Regions from separate parts of the Homo sapiens genome. Here region 1 is linked to region 2. Evidence: promoter capture Hi-C in 16 types of primary human blood cells and fetal thymus (Javierre and others, 2016). All regions are on one chromosome and are shown on one strand. The core of a region is centred on a gene start or on the middle of the fragment in contact, and the rest is flanking DNA. Distances in the headings are between cores, read along the strand shown.

Region 1 (4,243 bases), core at 1,095-3,594, 120 kb after region 2:
TCTCGAACTCGTGACCTTGTGATCTGCCCTCCTTGGCCTCTCAAAGTGCTGGGATTACAGGCTTGAGCCACTGTGCCCAGCCTAAAAAAAAAAAAAAAAAAAAAAAAAACCTTTTTTAAAAAAAAGAGAGTGGATACATGGATGTTTAGTTACAGGGTGCACACTGCCCAAATGACAGGGGGCCCATGTGTTCTTTGATACACTTCTGTTTGTGCTTCTGATACATGGGCACCTCCAGCACAAGAACCCTGGGCAACCCTCCCTGCCTATTCTAAGGGCAAACTGCTCTCTGAGTGTATTAGTTTACATGGGCTGCCACAAAAAAAATGCCGTAGACTGGGCGGCTTACACAACAGAAACTTCTTGTCTCACAGCTCTGGAGGCTGGAAGTCCAAGATCAAGGTGTTGACCAGGTTGGTTTCTCCTGGGGCCTTTCTCCTTGGCTTGTAGATGGCTGCGTTCTCTCTGACATGGTCTTTCCTCCGGCCACATGCATACCTGGTGTCTTTTCCTGTCTTCTTTTTTCTATTATTTATTTATTTATTTTATTTAATTAATTAATTTATTTATTTTTGAGATGGAATCTCCCTCTGTCACCCAGGCTGAAGTGCAGTGGCACAATCTCGACTCACTGCAAGCTCCGCCTCCCGGGTTCACGCCATTCTCCTGCCTCAGCCTCCCGAGTAGCTGGGACTACAGGTGCCTGCCACCACACCTGGCTAATTTTTTGTATTTTTAGTAGAGACGAGGTTTCACTGTTAGCCAGAATGGTCTCGATCTCCTGACCTCATGATCCTCCCGCTTCAGCCTCCCAAAGTGCTGGGATTACAGGCATAAGCCACAGCACCCCGCCTATTTATTTATTTTTTTTGAGACAGGGTCTTGCTCTGTCGCCTAGCTTGGAGTACGCAATGGCATGACCATAGCTCACTGCAGCCTCGACCTCCCCAGGCTCAAGTAATCCTTCCACCTCAGCCTCCCAGGTAGCTGGTATTACAGCCATGCACCACCACGTCTGGCTGAGTTTTTTTTACATTTTTTTGTAGAGATGGGTTTTTGCTGTGTTGCCCAGGCTGGTCTCCAACTCCTGGGCTCAAGTGATCCTCCCACCTCAGCCTCCCAAAGTGCTGGGATTACAGGAATGAGCCACCGCACCCAGCCAAGAGCCACTTGTTAACCCCTAGCCGGCACATCAGTGGCCTCGCCATAGGACACCCTCCTGCGGGTCTTTACGATCACCTTTGCTTGACTTGAATCCCTGTCATGGTTGCGTGACTTTAATTCAGCATTAGGCAAATAAGGAGACCAAGTAGGTTAAAAGTCATTTGACTCTCCCTAGTTCTCTGCCAATCAAAGGCTGTGTGCCTCATTCTGGATGATAGCCGACTTTATCTGCATAATGATGTGTGGTATATCATTAATGCAAATGATACATCAATTACCAAACTGGGCAATGATGAGATATCATGATGGACAATTGGCTGTCTTTCCAAATGCCTTTGTGCAAAGTCCTTACCTGTTGTTGCCTCTAAACCTGTGTAACTCAGGGACAGCTCACCAGCTGCCAACAGAGCCTTGAGCCACCACCCATTTTTGGAGGGGGTGCGGAAACCACCCAATATGGTAAAAACGTGCTAACACATTTAAGTCTAACAAATTAACACTTTTAATGTACATAATTTATACAGCTATATAATGATGCTATGCACAAAATAATTACAGCAGGATTGATAAAAAGTACACAGCAGATAGTGAGATTCGGGAATGAAATACCATTTTAAAATTGTATTATGAACATTTTTTTTCCAAGCTCATTAGTATTCATGCCTTCCTTTCGAGGTAAGTTTTATTCGACAATGACTTGCAGATCACTTTTGATGTGTCAGACACTGCTGTAAGCACTTTATAAGTAATAACTCTTTAAGCTTTATCTAATTTTAGAATATTTTTATCACCCACAAAAGAAACTCTACCCGTTAGTTGTCATTCCCCATCCATTCCCCCTGGTAACCACTAATCTACTTCCTGCTTCTATGGATTTGCCTGTTCTGGGCTTTTTTGTTTTTATTTTTGGTAGAGACAGGGTCGTGCTATGTTGCCCAGGCTGGTCTTGAACTCCTGGCCTCAAGTGATCCTCCCTCCTTGGTCTCCCACAATGCTGGGATTACAGGCAGGAGCCACTGCATTCAGCTGATTCTTGACATTTTATATAAATGAAATCATACAATAGGTTGCTTTTGGTGATTGGCTTAATCTATCCTTATTCCCATTTTGTGGATGAGGAGACAGAAACAGAGAAGATAAGGACCTTGGCCAAGGTCACATAGCTAGTAAGTGACAGAAGCAGGGTTCACACTCAGGTAGCCTGGCTCCGGCATCCTTGCTAAGTATCAGAGTCAAAACCGAATAACGTCAAAAGTGTACATTGAGGCCCGTCTCATGCCTCGGTGCCTCATGCCTGTAATCCCAGCACTTTGGGAGGCTGAGGTGGGAAGATCACTTGAGACCAAGAGTTCAAGACTGCCCTGGGCAACATAGCAAGGCCCCATCTCTACAGAAAAAAAAAAAAAAAAAAAAAATTAGCCGGCATGGCTGCGCACACCTGTAGTCCCAGCTACTCAGGAGGCTGAGGCAGGAGGATTGTGATCACTTGAGCCTAAGAGATCAAGGCTGTAGTGAGCCATGATTGAACCACTGCACTCCAGCCTAGGCAACAGAGCAAGATCCTGTCTCAACAACAACAAAGTATACGTTAAAAGCTTTTTGCGAAGATGAGGTGTGGACCAAATTGCTCCTGGATACCCCTCAGGTGAGAGACCCTGTTAAGGTTTGCTTTCTGGTGAGATCGGGGCTGGGGAGTAGGGTGAAGAGCAGAGGTGGAGAACAAGCTCTACCCTGAAGTTAATAGTTGCTGAGTAAACCTTTGTCCTTAGAGAAGATAGACTCAATACAATTACATGTATTTTAAAACAGTAATATTAAAAATTAGCTGGGCATGGTGGCACATGCCTGTGGTCCCAGCTACTCAGGAGGCTGAGGTGGGAGGATCCCTTGAGCCCCAGTGGTAGAGGCTGCAGTGAGCCACGATCACACCACTGCACTCCAGCCTGGGTGACACAGCAAGACCCTATCTTAAAAACAAAAAGAAAAAATTTAAAAAAGAAAAGAATTGTAAGTTTCTGGGGACCACGGGCTTCTCTTGCGCAGGGCACATGTTCTGCTCACATCTGCTCCTTACCAATTCTTTGACAATTATTTCAACACACACAGGAAGTGCCCGTGATGTGTCAGGTTATGTTCCAGGGAGGCACCAGGGTAAACAAGAAGATGACTTGTTAGACTTCTAGGACAAGGAGAGCCCAGGCCGCTGTGGAAAACTCTACCTGCCTCAGCCACTCTGCTGGCCACACGACTTTTGCCCCAAGCCCATAAAACCGAGGGAGTCACCTGCTGCGTCAGTTTCTACCAGGCCAGCTGGAACAGGCTGGGCGAGTTGGTGCCAGACTGGCACATGGGCAGGTAGGGCAGGGCCCGTTGTCTTCCCAGGGATTAATCAGCTCATGCAGCGTCATCCTCTGTCCCTTCCTTGGCATTGGACCAGAACGGGGACTGGAGCCTTCCAGCAAAGGGAGTCCTTGGGGAGCTCCTCCAGCAAGACCCGCCTGGGACTCTCCACCACCCCATGCAATGCCACCCTGTCTCATCCACGTATCTCAGTGAGGGGCAGCGGGAAAGAGGAATAGGGGGAGCTTTTTCTCTGTCTGTCTGATTGTAAGCCCCTACTTCAAGATACTCTAAGGAGTCGCTTCTACCTTCCCCAAATCGCTGGGGAGCAAACGCTCCATGTGACCCTATAAGGTGAGAAGTGAGGAAGTGACTCCCCTGTAACCCAGCAGTCCAGAATCCCGGGTCCAAGGTCACCCAAATCAACCATCTCATCACTGTTTGCAGTTGCTCTCTGGGTCTGCCTTTGGCTTCTTTTTGGGTTCAGAGCCCAGCAGGAAGCCAGGCCTCACCAGCAGGCCCCCACTCCCACTGCTGGGGGGCCTAGGCTGGGAGGCCCCAGGGAACTTCCTGCACCTCCCTCTGCCACACCTGCTTGTACCTGAAATTGTTTATTAGGGCGGTTCCAACAGCCACCAACAGGCTTGGCCGGAATTTGTGGTTCTTTCTGTGTAACACTCAATGGCTTTATTATTTAATAGCAGAAGGAGTTGTGGCTACTTATTTAATTGCCAAACTT
Region 2 (4,121 bases), core at 620-3,119:
TGGAGAGGGGGTCCTTGCTGGGGCTTTGGCCTTGGAAAACCTGCAGGTAAACCTTTTCCTGGGATCTCCCCTTGCCCAGAAGTCAGGGTGAAGAGACGTTAGTTCCAAGGCTAAGGAGGCCTTTCAACTCGGGCTGAGACTGCCTGGCTCAATGAAAAATCAGGATCCAACTGGGCCCTACCTAGAGGTTTGGGCCTCACGCCGCTGTCCAGGGCCACAGCCGCAACTAGGCCACTCGCTGGTCCCCAGCGGGGCAGGAAAAATTGCTCCAGGGAAGTGGCTGAATGTTCGGGGGAAAATGGAACCGCTGAGGCCGTGTCCTTGTGGGGTGTCACCGCCCATCTGGGGCTCGTGGCTTGGAGGGACTGGGGCTGGGAGGAGCAGGCCAGGCAGCTGCGGCCACCGCCACCCCCACCCAGGACTGGGCGCTAGGTGCCCTCTCGGAAGCTGTGGATCTGCGTGGAGTACCTCTGCAGGTGGCCCTGGGGCTGGGCCTCCGTGGCCCCCAACGCACCCCCAGCCACCTGCTGCTGCTGCTGGTAGTGCTGGTAGAGCTTGGGGCCCGGCCCCTCCAGGCCTGGGAGGCGGCTGCTGGACATGGTCAGGATGGTGGCCGTCAGCGATTTGATGTAGTTCTTGGCCAGCGTGAGCGTCTCGATCTTGGAGAGCTTCTTGTCCGCGCGCACGTGGGGGATGACTTCACGCAGGGCCTGGAAGGCGTTATTTAGCTTGTGCATCCGCTGCCGCTCCCTCTCGTTGCTCTCCAGCCGCCGCTGGATGCTGCTGTCACGACGGCCACCGGGCCCGGAGGGTCCTGGCCGCCTGCGCCTGCCCTCGCCCGGAGCCCTTGCTGCGGCCCGGGCCGGCCGGCTCCGCAGACCCTTGGCCGGCTCTGGCCCCGGGTTCGGCAGGGACCCGTCGGGCGTCCCCTCCCCGGGGGTGGCCTCTGTGTCCTGCACCGGGGCCCGGCGCCGTGGGGGCCGGTTCTTGGTCTTCATGGCCCTGGACTGGCTGTCCTAGGAGGTGGCGGCAGGAAGGTGAGGCCCTTGGAGCTGAAATCCAGAACACAGGACACTCTGTGGTCACCCCACATGGGCAGGGGACCCGCTGGGGTGCCGTCCCTGGCAGCCTCCTCCTTGCTGACAGCAATGGTACCAGGGGCAGGGGTTGGCGCTCTGCGACTGGAGGTCCTTCTGTTCACACGCTTAGCCCTGGGCTGACCCCACACACACCCACGCCCTTGCTTTACCTCAAACAGACCTCTGGAATCTGTCCCTGTCCCTGCGTCCCCCTTCCCCCAGGATGACTCATCCTGACCCCTAGATCTTCCTCTGGCTCATGCCCCTCACTGCCCCCAGAGTGCCTCCTGAGCTCGGTGACCTTTGACACTTTGCCTAGAATGCGTCCCCCACCCTAGCTTAGGGGGCGCCTCTGCCGGAGGCGGCACTGACTTCATCCCGTGGGCGGGCAGTGACTCCAGCCACCAGGCTCTCACTGTCCTGCCCCGCTGGACGTGACACGTGCAGGGACAGCACTGGGGCCAGAACCGCTGCGGACATGGGACAGCACTGGGGCCAGAACCGCTGCGGACATGGGGCAGCCGTGGAGGTCAGAGGTCGGCAATGGCCAGGGCCTGGCGGCAGCCCCCAATCCCACCACGTGGATGGGCCCCGTGGAGCCTCCAGACAGACCAGAAGTCCCCCACCCGGGTTTCCCCACAGCCCCCACAACCCCCACAACCCCACCGCCAGGTCCTGCCCCTGGGTCCCCTCCCCGCGGCCCCACCCGAGTTCCCAGCTCCCGGGTTACCTGGGGATCCGCGGCCACACGCGCCGAGGCTGCCCACGGGGGACAAGGACACGTCGCTTTAGCCGCCCCGGGAGGGGCCGCGGACGCATGCAAATGAGCCCTCGGGGCGGGGCCGGGGCGGGGCCGGGGTCCGGGTGTCCCGGCGGGCGCTGGGCAGCAGTGGCGGCACCTGCGGGCGGGCGGGCGGGAGGCCGGCGCCTGGGGCTCCCGGACCAGGTGGCCGCGCAGCCCCGCCCCCAGCTTCCGCCCCGCCCCCAAGATAGAAAACCTCCCCCGCCCGCCTCTCCCCATCCTCCCCCTACTGCCCCCCACCCTCGTCCCCCAAGACAGCCACCCCCGCCCGCCTCTCCCCACCATCCCCCGACAGCCCCCGACCCTCGTTCCCCCAGACAGCCTCCCCCACACGCTTCTCCCCATCCTCCCCCGACAGCCCCCCAACCGCCCCGAGATAGCTTCCCCCCATTCGTCTCTCCCCATTCTCCCGCTACAGCCCCCCCAAGACAGCCTGCGTCCCCACCTCCCCTACTCCCGTCCCCCGACAGCCTCCCCACAACCTGCTTTTCCCCATCCTCCCCCTCAATTTCCACTCGCGCCTTTCCCACCCGCCTACCCCATATCCGTGCCCGAGACAGCCTCCCCCCGCCCGCTTTCCCCGACCCTCCCCCTGACACAGCACCCCCGCATCCATGCCTCCCGCGATCCTCCTTGCCCGGCCTCTCCACTCGTGGCGGGGCCCGGGCCCATTCCGCCAATGGGAAACAGGTCTCTGGGAGCCGCCGGAAGGAGGGGCAGCCCCGATTCAGGCTCAGCACACAGATCCCAAGTCCCAGGAGCACTCCGGGACGAGCCGCTCCGCGAAAACGCGGGCATCTCCCAGGGGATCCCCCGCCCCGCCGCCCGGGATGTTTAGGGGAACCTGGGGCTCCTACGGGCTGGGGGCGGAGCCCGAGTTGGGGTGGGGGTGGGGGGCTCCTTGGGCAGGTGTGCAGTCCTTGGGAACGCCTGTTTTGTTTGTTTGTTTGTTTTTGAGACGGAGTTTCGCTCTTGCTGCCCAGGCTGGCGTGCAATGGAGCGAGATGATCTCGGCTCACCGCAACCTCCGCCTCCCGGGTTCAAGCGATTCTCCTGCCTCAGCCTCCCGAGTAGCTGGGATTACAGGCATGCACCACCACGCCCAGCTAATTTTTGTATTTTTAGTAGAGACGGGGTTTCTCCACGTTGGCCAGGCTGGTCTTCAACTCCTGACCTCAAGTGATCCACCCGCCTCGGCATCCCAAAGTGCTGGGATTACATGCGTGAGCCACCACGCCCAGCCAAAGCAGCATCTTGCTCAGGGACTATTCGGGGCTGCTAGGGGTGCGGTGACTGCACGCTGCTGGGGGTGCGGTGAGTGTCACGCTGGCTGGCAGGCCTGGGCTCCACACTCATGGGTCTCGCCGCTCTGTCTCAGTACCTCTGGGTGGGAACTCAGAGGGGCCATAGTGGGGCGGGGGGCGGGCACAGAAAGGCTAGCTTGGAGCCAAGGTTAGTTAGTTCTTCTCTTGGCCTAAAGCTCATTTGAGGCTGGGCCAAATGAGGTCCTTGGAAATGAAAATGCTTCCGAAATTCATGAGTGCAAAGGCATGGTTTATAGACATGCTTCAAGGTGGCAGGAACACTAAACAGGTTTGGTTTTCCAGTGGTTATACAAAGCTTTATGTCCTCAGGAGTGCGGGGAGTTTAGGTCTGTCACACAAGCTCCAGAGGGACCAGGGCAGGGGCCTGGAACACAGGCTGCGGGCGCTCACAGCAGGGCAGGGCCAGGCCACCCACCCAGGTGGCCCTTGCACGGTGGACAAAACACAGAAGAAACGCGGCCAACAGAGTTTATAAATATATAACTATATTTATTTTGAATATTAAATAGTTTTTAAATTACAAGCAATTTATTGAATCACACTATGCATCAATATACAGTAAAAATCTTACAATTTAAAAATGTACACAATTTAAACTGAAAGTTCATTGACTATTATATTGCCATGAACCTCTTCTGCCTGTGTTAAAGCACAGCAGGGAGGCCTGGTGGGTGTGACGGCCCCCTACGTCCTCCTCTGCAGACGGAATCCGACGGTGGATCCATACACCAGCCCCATGATCAAGATCCCGCTCGGCCCACGTAGGCCTGAGTGCTTAACCAGCACGTGTCCACACCGGTCAAACTGATCTTCACAGGCTGTTGGTAATTCAACACTGTCAATGCATCTTTAAGAATTTCTTTATAGATGAAAGAGAATGTTCTTTGTTAATAAAGACTTGAGCCAACCCCATTG

The links. The method cuts DNA at HindIII sites, captures the fragments that hold promoters and counts their contacts. A CHiCAGO score of 5 or more calls a contact.
Region 1: a contact is called between a fragment that was not itself captured here and the fragment with the promoter of BHLHA15 in region 2, in 1 of 17 cell types (neutrophils). The highest score is 6.0, in neutrophils.

What each region holds. Positions count from the first base shown.
Region 1 is chr7:98,085,659-98,089,901 of GRCh38, reverse strand. No RefSeq gene overlaps it. Among named protein-coding and RNA genes, the nearest start is that of LMTK2, 19 kb to the left of the region's middle. The HindIII fragment of the contact is 834 bases long and covers 1,928-2,761 here.
Region 2 is chr7:98,209,187-98,213,307 of GRCh38, reverse strand. It overlaps BHLHA15 (basic helix-loop-helix family member a15), which reads right to left and starts at 1,869. Exons shown (of 2, transcript NM_177455.4): 1 at 1,810-1,869; 2 at 1-1,052. The coding sequence starts at 998. The coding sequence ends at 429. It overlaps LMTK2 (lemur tyrosine kinase 2), which reads right to left. Exons shown (of 14, transcript NM_014916.4): 14 at 3,670-4,121. RefSeq lists a silencer at 1,808-1,997. The HindIII fragment of the contact is 21,052 bases long and covers 1-3,503 here.